Linked DNA regions of Homo sapiens: regions 1 and 2 are each linked to region 3. The links are contacts of gene promoters, found by promoter capture Hi-C in human tissues and cell types (Jung and others, 2019). All regions are on one chromosome and are shown on one strand. The core of a region is centred on a gene start or on the middle of the fragment in contact, and the rest is flanking DNA. Distances in the headings are between cores, read along the strand shown. Region 1 overlaps SLC13A2 (solute carrier family 13 member 2). Region 2 overlaps FOXN1 (forkhead box N1). Region 3 holds the start of SLC46A1 (solute carrier family 46 member 1).

Region 1 (4,096 bases), core at 735-3,234, 86 kb before region 3:
CAGGTGCTTACCTGGGTCCTGGGTCAGCCCTGGGAACTTGGAGGGTATGATGAACATAATTATGCCGATGAAGATGGCCACTGTCCCATCGGACACCATGCTGTTGGTGGAGGGGGCGCGGGGAGGGCTGGGTTAGCCGCTTGGGGTTGCTCAGGGCCACAGGGTGGAGGGTGGTGGAGATGAGCCTCTCCCATAGACAAGCCTGGGGAACCTTCATCCCCCACCAAGTGTTACCTCCTGTTCTGCAATGGGGGCCCTATACCCTTCCCTCCTTCCCGAGCATGTGAGCCCCAGATGTGTCCTCCTCCCAACCCCTGCAACTCTCACCTCTCCCCCTTGGCATTGGGAAAAGCCAAATTGCCCCAGCCAAGAAAAAAGCCCGGCTCCCGGGTGAACCAGAGCAGCACCAGGATGACGAATAGGATGCTGATGGCCTTTTCTGCAAAGGTCATGGGGCCCAGCAGCCTGTGCTCGGTCTGGATGACGCAGTAGGCTGCCTGCTGTTGCTCCTGCATCTTTTCCCCAATGCCAAAGTTCTTCCGGAAGCTGCAGGCAGAGGGACGGGGCAGCTCGTGGGGGGCCTGCTCCAGCAGGGAGCAAGGGGCTCTGAGTGCCTACCATCTAAAGGCTGAGGCCCACAGAGGGCATCTCAGGGTCACTACACTCAGGCCCCAGCTCCGCCTGAGGTTCTGGAGGAGGAGCAGAAGACTTTTAGAGGCCATAGTTCTTGCTTATTCTCCATGCTTGGCCCTGCCCCATTGAGCCCCTTTTCCTCCAGGGGTTCTATGGTGCTGAACCCTCCCTTGCCCAGGGTGAGGAGGACCTAGCAGCTCAGACCCTGGGACTTCTTCCTGCCCTGGCTCACAGCTCTTCTCCTCCAACAGCCTTCGGGAAGTCCTCCCTTCCCTCCTCTGCCTTCTCTGCTTATCCCCTGCCAGCCTGAGCCCCACCTGCATTGTCCTCAGAGGCACAGTAGGCTGCAGCCCACTTCCTTCTGCTGCTGACTTAACTTGTGTTGACATTTAACTTTCCACTTGGGTAAATCTCAACCTCCCTGCTGGACTGTGAGTTCCTCAAGGGCAAAGACCACACTTCACACATCTTTGACTCCCCTGTGGTGCCTGGCACTGTGCTGACCTCTTCTACTACCACCTTGCCTTGTACCAGCTCCCAACCTTAATCCAGCTTCCTTACATTTGCCCAAGTGATTTTTCCAAAGTGCAGCAGCAATGCTTAAAAACTTTCAAGGGCTCTCCACTGCCTGGGCAGGAAGGGCAAATTATAATTAATACCACAGTAACACTCATACCACCACTCTTATCCCGTATTCATGGCAGACATCACTAATCAATCACAGACTTGATACTAACTGAGCCTTAGCAGGGTCTCCTATGATTTTCCAACTCAGAGCTCCAAACAGTGACTACCAGGAACCTGGTGGAAGTAGGAATGAAATCTATTTATTACTCTTGGCTTCATTAGGTGGCACACAAGAGCTTCCAGAACCTTCCCCTGCCTACTTCTCCAGCTTCATGACCTGATGCTCCTTTTTGCTGTTTGTGTTTTAGTCCTGCAGAACTAGAGTTCCCTCGAACACGTCTTGTCTTGCCTCTGTGCTTTGTGCAATCTGCTCCTGCTGCCTGGAATTTCTTCACCCATTCTCTACCTGGCTGACTTCTAGTCCTGCAAGATTCAGCCCAGGCATGATCTCCTCCATGGTGTTCTGGAATCTTCACTCACCTGGGCTGAACTAGACACTGTGTTCTCTGTGCTCTTGCAGCATCTGGGCTTCCCTCTGTCGTGACCCCACCATATCATCATCCACCTGATGGGCTACAAGGACAGGGACTGTGCCCAGTGCCTTCTAGTATTCTCAGTGCCTTACACACAACCCAGTATACAGTAGGAACACAGCAGGTGCTTCTGTAACTAACCATGCTCAGTGTGTGCCCCTTAAGCACCTATCAAAGGACGGTGGACCATTATGGGAAGGGGCATCAAGTGACCTGGTTTGCAGCCCCAGCACTGACAAATCTAGTTGCGAACCACTCCTGAAGCCTCAATTTGCGCATCTGTGAAATGGGATAATACTCTCTACCCAGTAATTTCCTCAAATGGGGGTCCAAGTGCACAGAGGGGCTTTGGGAGGGAGAAGCCTTCTCATTGGGATGGTGATAATATCATTTTCCACATCTGCACCCAACTGGAAGCTCCCAGGGCTAAGGGCAGGGACCTGGGCTTCTCTCACCAACTTTGCCACTTACTTGAAGCCCAGGAAGAGGATCTGCAGCCACAACCAGGCCAGCAGCAGCAAGATGACCATGGTGGGGAAGGCGAAGCTGAACCAGGAGGCGAAGTTCACCACGTTGCCGTTTTGGGGGAAGAGCCTGAAGGAGGAACATGGGCTGCCGTGTGACATTGCCCCGAGAACTGCCCAGCCCCATTCACCTCCCAGTGAATGTGCAGATCCCCCAAGGTGGCCCACCCCTTGTCACTCACGAGTTGATCTGGCCTTGCAGCACCAGGTTGGGTGCGGTGCCAGTCAGCGTGGCGATGCCCCCGATGCTGGCGGAGTAGCACACGCACAGGCTCATGCACTGGGTGAGGTGGAGATGCTTCTGGCTGAGATGTGCCCTCCCCTCCGAAGAGGCAGACGTGACAGGGAGGGCCTGCCCATTATCTGGGAACAAGGGAGAGCCCAGGTGGGGGCAGGTACAGGGCCAGCTCTGGGGAACGGGGCCAGGGCTGCAAGGCCCTCCAGGGTACCTTGTCTGTGAACAGCCCAGACCGGGGCTGGAAGGAGGACAGAGGATGTCTCCAGGCCTGAGGGGCCCAGCATTCCCCAGAGTCTCAGGCTGGGAGCACCCTTGGACACTCTATGATCTGACCTCTCTCTTGAGAGAGGGAAACGAGGATTACCCAAACCACTCAGGAAGAATGGAGCCTAGACCTTGGACTGTTCACCTAGACTCCAGCTCTCTTCTTGCTATGGTGACCAAGCATCTTGGTTTGCCCAGGGATGAGGGGATTCCCAAAACAGGGTACTTGACATTTTTTAAAAAAGGAAAAACAAATTGGTCACTGTCCTTCTTGCATCTCTTTCTTCTCTCCCCAAAGGCTCCAAGATGACCAGCCCTCGAAACGGACAGACCCTCAGACTCTCTCCAAGAACCAAGGGGTTGGGGCAGAGTCTAGCCTCATTTTTCTCACCAAGCTTGGTCACCTCCTTCTGGGGACTTGGTTCCTGGAGCTCGAAGGTGGGGTTGTTGCTGCCCTCCTCGACGTTGCTGCTGGCTTGCGAGCTGTGCAGCTGGTCCAGGACGGCATGTGCGATGGGCACCATCATGGCTGAGGTGGCCGTGTTGCTGATCCACATGGACAGGAAGGCCGTGACCAGCATGAAGCCCAGGATTAGCCTAGGGATGGGCAGACAGACACACTGCTGTTCCAGCTTCCCTTCAGGGACTGGGTGCCCAGAATATCTCCTCGTCAGGTTCTCCCGTGCTGGTTTGCAGGAGGAACTCACGGGGCAGGCCGCACCCCAACGATGAGGAGGACACGGAGGGCGATGCGTTTATGCAGGTTCCAGTGTTCCACCGCGATGGCCACCAGCAGCCCCCCGAAGAACAGGAGGTTGGAGTCCTTAAGATACTCGACGGCAACCTGGCAGGTGGAGACATGGCTGAGCGGCGGGAAGACCCTGGAGTCTCCCACGGTGCCCCCGAGGTTATGGGATGCAGTCACTGACATTCCCACAGACTGGCATTCCCCTGGGCTCTCGAAACTGGATGGAAATGGTCTCTGAATGATCTGCCATTTAAAAAAAATAAATTTAACTTTTTGGAGACAGGGTCTGGCTCTGTTGCCCAGGCTGGAATGCAGTGGCACAATCACAGCTCACTGCAACCTCCACCTCCTTGGCTCAAACCATCCTCCCACCTCAGCCTCCCAAGTAGCTGGGACTACAGGCACGCACCACCATGCCTGGCTAATTTTTGTATTTTTTGTAGAGATGAGGTTTCACCTCGCTGGCCAGGCTGGTCTCGAACTCCTGAGCTCAAGTGATCCACCCGCCTTGGCCCCCTAAAGTGCTAGG
Region 2 (3,595 bases), core at 834-3,333, 110 kb before region 3:
TGGAGGTGTGTACCCTGTGGAGGTCTGTACCCTGTGGAGGTGTGTACCCTGTGGAGGTATGGATCCTGTGGAGGTGTGTACCCTGTGGAGGTATGGATCCTGTGGAGGTGTGTACCCTGTGCAGGCATGTACCCTGTGGAGGTATGTACCCTGTGGAGGTGTGTACCCTGTGGAGTTGAGTACCCTATGGAGGTGTGTACCCTATGGAGGTGTGTACCCTGTGGAGGTGTGTACCCTGTGGAGGTATGGATCCTGTGGAGGTGTGTACCCTATGGAACTATGGATCCTGTGGAGGTGTCTGCCCTGTGGAGGTGTGTACCCTGTACCCTGTGGAGGTGTGTCCCTGTGGAGGTGTGTATCTTGTGGAGGCATGTACCCTGTGGAGGTGTGTACCCTGTGGAGGTGTGTCCCTGTGGAGGTATGGATCCTGTGGAGGTGTGTACCCAGTGGAGGTGTGTACCCTGTGGAGGTGTGTATCCTGTGGAGGTGTGTACCCTGTGGAGGTGTGGATCCTGTGGAGGTGTGTACCCTGTGGAGATGTGTACCCTTTTGAGGTATGGATCCTGTGGAGGTGTGTACCCTGTGGAAGTGTGTACCCTGTGGAGGTGTGGATCCTGTGGAGGTATGTACTCTGTGGAGGCGTGTACCCTGTGATGGTATGGATCCTGTGGAGGTGTGTACCCTGTGGAGGTATGGATCCTGCGGAGGTGTGTACCCTATGGAGGTATGGATCCTGTGGAGGTGTGTACCCTGTGGAGGTGTGTCCTTGTGGAGGTATGGATCCTGTGGAGGTGTGTACCCAGTGGAGTTGTGTACCCTGTGGAGGTGTGTACCCTGTGGAGGTGTGTATCCTGTGGAGGTGTGTACCCTGTGGAGATGTGTACCCTTTTGAGGTATGGATCCTGTGGAGGTGTGTACCCTGTGGAAGTGTGTACCCTGTGGAGGTGTGGATCCTGTGGAGGTATGTATTCTGTGGAGGCGTGTACCCCGTGATGGTATGGATCCTGTGGAGGTGTGTACCCAGTGGAGGTGTGTACCCTGTGGAGGTATGGATCCTGCGGAGGTGTGTACCCTATGGAGGTATGGATCCTGTGGAGGTGTGTACCCTGTGGAGGTGTGTATCCTGCGGAGGTGTGTACCCTGTGGAGGTGTGTACTCTGTGGCGGTATGGATCCTGTGGAGGTGTGTACTCTGTGGAAGTGTGTACCCTGTGGAGGTGTGGATCCTGTGGAGGTATGTACTCTGTGGAGGCATGTACCCCGTGATGGTATGGATCCTGTGGAGGTGTGTACCCTATGGAGGTATGGATCCTGTGGAGGTGTGTAACCTGTGGAGGTGTGTACCTTGTGGAGGTGTGGATCCTGTGGCAGTGTGTACCCTGTAGAGGTGTGTACCCTGTGGAGGTATGGATTCTGTGGAGATGTGTATCCTCTGGAGATGTGTACCCTTTGGAGCTATGGATCCTGTGGAGGTGTGTACCCTGTGGAGGTGTGTACCCTGTGGAGGTATGGATCCTGTGGAGATGTGTACCCTGTGGATGTAAGGATCCTGTGGAGGTGTGTACCCTGTGGAGATGTGTACCCTGTGGAGGTATGGATCCTGTGGAGGTGTGTATCCTGTGGAGTTATGGATCCTGTGGAGTTGTATACCCTGTGGAAGTATGGATCCTCTGGAGGTGTGTACCCCTGTGGAAATGTGTATACTTGTGGAGGGGTGTACACCTGTTGAGGAGGGTATACCTGTGGAAATGTGTACCCTGTGAAGGTATGGACACTGTAGAGATATGTTCACCTGTGGAAGTGTGTACCCTGTGGAGGTGTGTACGCCTGTGAAGGTATGTATATCTGTGGAGGTGTATACACCTGGGGAATGGTGTTCACCTTTGGAGGTATGTACACTGTGGAGGGGTGTACTCCTGTGAAAGTGTGTATACTTGTGGAGGGGTGTATACCTGTTGAGGAGTGTACACCTGTGGAGGTATATTCACCAATGGAACTGTATACCCTGTGGAGGTGTGTACACCTGTGGAAGTCTATACTTTTGGAGGGGTGTACACCTGTGGAGATGTGTAGCCTGTGGAGGTATGTTCATCTGTGGAAGTGTGTACCCTGTAGAAGCATGTACCACATGGAGGGGTGTACCTCTGTGAAGGGGTGTACACTTGTGGAAGTATGTTCACCTATGGAAGTATGTACCCTGTGGAAGTGTGTTCACCTGTGGAGGTATGTTCACCTGTGGAAGTGTATACACCTTTGGAAATGTGCACACCTGTGGAGGGTGTACCCTGTGGAGATGTGTACACCTATGAAGGGGTGTACTCTGTGGAGGTGTGTACCCTGTGGAGGTATGTACTCTGTACTCTTTGGAGGTATGTACCCTGTGGAAGTGTGTACCCTGTGGAGGTGTGTACCTCATAGAGGTGTGTACCCTGTGGAGATATGTACCCTGTAAAGGTGTATCTGGCCCACAGAGCTGTCAGCAGGGACCTCACCCCTCCTCTGCCTTTATGTGGGGCGCCCCTGAGGACATCCTCAAGGAGATCAGGAAGACTTGGCTGAGTTTTTACACCCCAGGAAGGAGGAGCTGTATTATCATCCCATTTTATAGATGAGGAAACTGAGACTCAGAGAAGTTAACCTGACTTGCCCAAGTTCACTCAGCTAGTATATTATGCTCCCCAGGATTCCAACCCGGGCTTCAAAGCCAGCATGCTGAACCATTACGCTACACGGCCCCACCTTGGTAACGCCTCAGCCTCCCTGCTCAAGCCTGAAAGGTGGGTGGGGGCGACGTTGGAGGTTTCCTTGGGAGGGTCTGTCCCTGCCTCCCCTGTGGGCAACTGAATCACAGGGACAGACAGGCCTGGGGCACCAAGGGTCCTCCCCAGGCTCTCTTCACGCTCCCTGCTGCCTCCCACCTGGCGGCCTCCTACCCACTCTTTATGAGTGAGGTGGGGACGGCTCAGTTCCACCTTAATGGTTTCTGTTGCTGGCTGCGGCAGCATGTTTTACGAGGGGTGGGGCTCGGCCGGCCGGGTGCTGGCCTGTAGCCCCACCCAGGGCTCCACCCGACAGGCTGCTGGGAGGGGTCCCCTGGAGCAGCTCGGCAATTATGGGGGTGGCAGGGAAGGACCTGGGGGCTCTGCCTGAGGCTTGGGCACCCAAGGAAACTCGGGGTCTGGGAATGCCAAGAAAGAGGGGGTTTCTAGCTCCTTTCTCCCCATCAATGTTGGAAGTTCTGAGGGCAAAATTCTGGCCTCCCTGGCTCTTAACCCAGCATCAGTTTCGGAAAATGGGTTGCGTGCCCCTGCCTTGAGATCTGACTCAAGTACAGAGCAGGTAGGGACAGAATGGGCAGGGAGGGGAGTGGGGAGAACAAAGGATGAAAAGCCACCATGTCCCCCAGGTGACGCTTTCCTCCATGTGAGCCACCGACACCTGCAGCTGAGTCATTCCAGTCCCCAAATCAGGCTTCTCCTAAAGACTCTTCAGCATTCCCATGTGCCTCTGGAAGCAGGCTGGTCCCAGAGCATTGCCTAGTACGCCCATCCTGGAAAAGCACTTGAGCCTTGGGCCGACCTGGAGGTTCTTCCAGA
Region 3 (4,004 bases), core at 1,431-3,930:
GGTTGGATGGGTGGAGATGTGATTTCTCAGCTTCCTTCTAGGTGGAGATTCTTGGGCTCTGGACTCCACAGTGCAGCTCAACATTGGCAACCCTCTCCACATGCTCTGGGACTCCAGCTGCGGAATCTCCTCTCCTTGAGACTGAGAGTTCATTCAGCGATCGTCTTTTGAGCATCTACCACACGCCAGGCACTATTCTAGATGCTGGGGATATGGTAGTGATGAAAAAACAAAGTCCCTGCCATCATGACCTCTAGTAAAGGGAGATGGACAACAAAGAAACCAGAAAGTTATAATTCAGATGGTGATAAACACTATGGAAAAAAATGAAACAGGGTAAAGGATTAGGGAGTGCCAGGAAGCAAGGAAGGAGGGAAGTTGCTTATATAGGAGGGTCAGGTGACATTTTAGTGGAGACTTGAAGGAAGTGAGGGAGCCGGCCAGGCAGATATCCAGAAGAGCATTCTAGGTAGTAGTTACCGCAAGTGTAAAGGCCCTAAAGCAGGAGGCCAGCATGGCTTGAGCACAAGGATTGAGGGGGACAAAGCAGGGGAGAGGGACAGAGAAGAGGTAGGTGGCCTTAGGGCTCTCATAAGGACTTGGCTCTCACTGAGCGAAATGGAAAGCCCAGGATGGTTTTGAGCAGGCCAGTGACCTGATTGCAGCTGTTTTCAAGGAGTTAGAAAAGACCTCTACCCTAGTGGGTACTGCAGGCTCTGGCTCTGGGATGAGCCACACCCTGTCCCATTCCTGATGAGGGACCTTGGCCTCTCCTAGCCTTAGTTCTTTATCTAAGAAATAATTCCAAGGATTTAGCCAAGTACCCCTCCCTCACTGCAGCTGACCTAACTGGGCCAAGCTTTTGTGTAAGTGGTAGGGAGGAGTTGGAAGGGGAGGGAGGAGAGTGGAGCCAATCCAGAGGCTTGAATGTTTAATGTGGAATTTCCTCTCTCTAGGGGACCACAGGTGGGGGCAGCTTGCAGGGGGAGGTTATTCAGTTCACTAGTATCTAGCCAGCACCTACCCATCCTGAGTCTCGGACTCCTGGCTCAGGGGAGGTGGGGTAGCTAACAAGCTCCAACAGGCCCAGGCACAGTCACAGTGGCCAGAATTGGAGCCATCCATCCTCCCAAGAATCAGGCCTGTCAGGACCTGCCTCCAGAAACCCACTCAGCTGCTCTGTTCTCAGGGAAGGTGGCCTTTCCTGATTCTGCTCCCCCTACCTCCAGCCCCTGAATTAGCACCCTTGGAGTTCAAAACTATTTTCCACGGTTGGAATTTTGTATCAATTAGTAGGATTCTTTGACTATTTTTCCTCTCCCACCATTCTAGAAACTAACGGGCCTGGTGAGGGCTTTGTCTATTTCCTTTCCTGTTGTGGTCCCGGAGTCCCCCAGCACAGTGCCTGGCACGTAAGGGGCACTCAGTAAATGAGCTGAATGAATGAAAGATAGGGGAGTAAGGAAGGTAATGCTGTTCCTTTTTACAGGCAATAAAACAGAGGCCCAGACAGGGTCTGACCTCCTCAGCAGCAGAGCAGGTGACTGCCTTCTGGCCTAATTCCTATAATGGGAGCCACCCAGGAGCATAGGTTCACACCCAAGGACCTCCCAGGCCCTCCCCCATCTTCTCTAAGGGAACTGCAGAGCCAGGCCCTGCCTGACCCCAGAAACAAGACTAGTTTCCCAGGAAAAGATCCTAGGGCAGGAGTGGAGCAAGTGACAGCTTGTTTTTTATTTTATTTTTATTTTATATTTTTTGAGACAGGGTCTTGCTCTGTCACCCAGGCTGGAGTGCAGTGGTGCGATCTCAGCCCACTGCAACCTCTGCCTCCTGGGCTCAATTGATCCTCCCACCTCAGCCACCCGAGTACCTGGGACTACAGGTATCTGCTACTACGCCTGGCTAATTTTTGTGTATTTTTTGTAGAGACAGGGTTTTACCATGTTGCCCAGATTGGTCTCGAACTCCTGGGTTCAAGCGATCCATGCGCCTCAGCCTCCAAAAGTGCTGGGATTACAGGTGTGAGCCACCACTCCCAGACGTGACAGCCTGTTAATAGCAATAATAGCACTTTGAATATACCAGACACTGCTTTTCCACAACTTTTTGAGACATGTTTTGTTAGCAACTCCATTTTACAGATGAAAAAACAGAGGCTCAGGGTGGTAAGTGGCATGCCGAAGGTAGTGGCAGAGCCTAGGTGCTCCAACCCAGGCAGCTGGGCTCAGCCCACTCCGATCCTCTCCAGCTGCCTCTCTGTTACAGCGCAGAACATCAGCAGCATCAGGAGTCATGTGCTCTTCCAGCTCTGCCTTGAGTACCCGATGACCTCGTTTCCTCAGCGGTAGATAGCGATGGTTAATATTGGCTAGCCTGTAGAGTTATCGGGAGACCAACGCACAAAAAGGGTTTAATACCGTGCCCAGCACATAGTAAGTGGTCAATACATGTTAATTGTTGATATTCTTGTTATCTGTGGTGTGTCTGGGCCGGGAGGGAGGGCTGCAGGGCGGTGTCTACGCACACTTTACAGGTGAGGTCATCCCGCGGGCTGGGGGTGCCGGGCCCCTCGCTGGCCCACGCCCAGCCAGGTGCACCCGCGGCGAGAGTCCGGTGGCCTCAGGTCACAGGCCCCTCCCCGCCGGACATTTAAGGAGGGACGCCGGGCGCAGGCGCAGACAGCGCAAGCCCCACGCCACGCGTCGCTGGTCCCAGGCAGCGAGTCGCTCGCGCGCCCCGCCGCCCGCCTGGCGACAGCTCCGCCGCGCACGCACATGGAGGGGAGCGCGAGCCCCCCGGAAAAGCCCCGCGCCCGCCCTGCGGCTGCCGTGCTGTGCCGGGGCCCGGTAGAGCCGCTGGTCTTCCTGGCCAACTTTGCCTTGGTCCTGCAGGGCCCGCTCACCACGCAGTATCTGTGGCACCGCTTCAGCGCCGACCTCGGCTACAATGGCACCCGCCAAAGGGGGGGCTGCAGCAACCGCAGCGCGGACCCCACCATGCAGGTAGCGGGGCGGCGAGGAGCCTGGCAGGTGGAGGGCCCTGGTCTGGAGCGTGGGGGCAGCGGAGGGGCGGGGCCTGCGTAATGGTAGTGGCGGGTAACTGGAGGGAGGGTGCATTTTGGATGGTGGGCGGGACCAGAGCAAAGGGGCCTGACCGAGAACCTCAGCGGGTGGGATGCGAAAAGCTGAGCTAAAGTCTGGCCTTGCAGGTTAACAAAAGGGGGGGGAAAGGAAAGGGAATGGGGCCTTGGTCCATGTCCTTCCCCCTCTCCACTGGCAGATTTTGAAAGCTGTGCTAAGATTCTCTGAGGTTTAGGGCTCCAAAGGAAGTCCTCATCCCTGTAGCTCCCGGGATGGCGAGGATTTGGGGATTGTGGAACCCAGAGTGAGGAACCGCACCCTGGTCATTGTGCCCCTACAGGAAGTGGAGACCCTTACCTCCCACTGGACCCTCTACATGAACGTGGGCGGCTTCCTGGTGGGGCTCTTCTCGTCCACCCTGCTGGGAGCTTGGAGCGACAGTGTGGGCCGCCGCCCGCTGCTAGTGCTGGCCTCGCTGGGCCTGCTGCTCCAGGCCCTAGTGTCCGTTTTTGTGGTGCAGCTGCAGCTCCACGTCGGCTACTTCGTGCTGGGTCGCATCCTTTGTGCCCTCCTCGGCGACTTCGGTGGCCTTCTGGCTGCTAGCTTTGCGTCCGTGGCAGATGTCAGCTCCAGTCGCAGCCGCACCTTCCGGATGGCCCTGCTGGAAGCCAGCATCGGGGTGGCTGGGATGCTGGCAAGCCTCCTCGGGGGCCACTGGCTCCGGGCCCAGGGTTATGCCAACCCCTTCTGGCTGGCCTTGGCCTTGCTGATAGCCATGACTCTCTATGCAGCTTTCTGCTTTGGTGAGACCTTAAAGGAGCCAAAGTCCACCCGGCTCTTCACGTTCCGTCACCACCGATCCATTGTCCAGCTCTATGTGGCTCCCGCCCCAGAGAAGTCCAGGAAACATTTAGCCCTCTA

What was found. The method cuts DNA at HindIII sites, captures the fragments that hold promoters and counts their contacts. A contact is called where the count stands out against the background at its distance.
Region 1: a contact is called between a fragment that was not itself captured here and the fragment with the promoter of SLC46A1 in region 3, in 2 of the 25 tissues and cell types used here (lymphoblastoid cells and pancreas).
Region 2: a contact is called between a fragment that was not itself captured here and the fragment with the promoter of SLC46A1 in region 3, in 2 of the 25 tissues and cell types used here (mesenchymal stem cells and small bowel).

Annotation. Positions count from the first base shown.
Region 1 is chr17:28,490,021-28,494,116 of GRCh38, reverse strand. SLC13A2 (solute carrier family 13 member 2) reads right to left here. Exons shown (of 12, transcript NM_003984.4): 3 at 3,527-3,663; 4 at 3,211-3,416; 5 at 2,500-2,680; 6 at 2,265-2,387; 7 at 328-546; 8 at 12-100. Among named protein-coding and RNA genes, the nearest start is that of FOXN1, 14 kb to the left of the region's middle. RefSeq lists an enhancer at 899-968. The HindIII fragment of the contact is 5,155 bases long and covers 1-4,096 here.
Region 2 is chr17:28,514,077-28,517,671 of GRCh38, reverse strand. The region is part of intron 1 of FOXN1 (forkhead box N1); the gene reads right to left. Among named protein-coding and RNA genes, the nearest start is that of FOXN1, 9.5 kb to the right of the region's middle. The HindIII fragment of the contact is 8,963 bases long and covers 1-3,595 here.
Region 3 is chr17:28,404,888-28,408,891 of GRCh38, reverse strand. SLC46A1 (solute carrier family 46 member 1) reads left to right here and starts at 2,680. Exons shown (of 5, transcript NM_080669.6): 1 at 2,680-3,005; 2 at 3,424-4,004. The coding sequence starts at 2,778. RefSeq lists enhancers at 1-525, 3,666-4,004 and silencers at 2,499-2,838, 3,039-3,198. The HindIII fragment of the contact is 14,811 bases long and covers 1-4,004 here.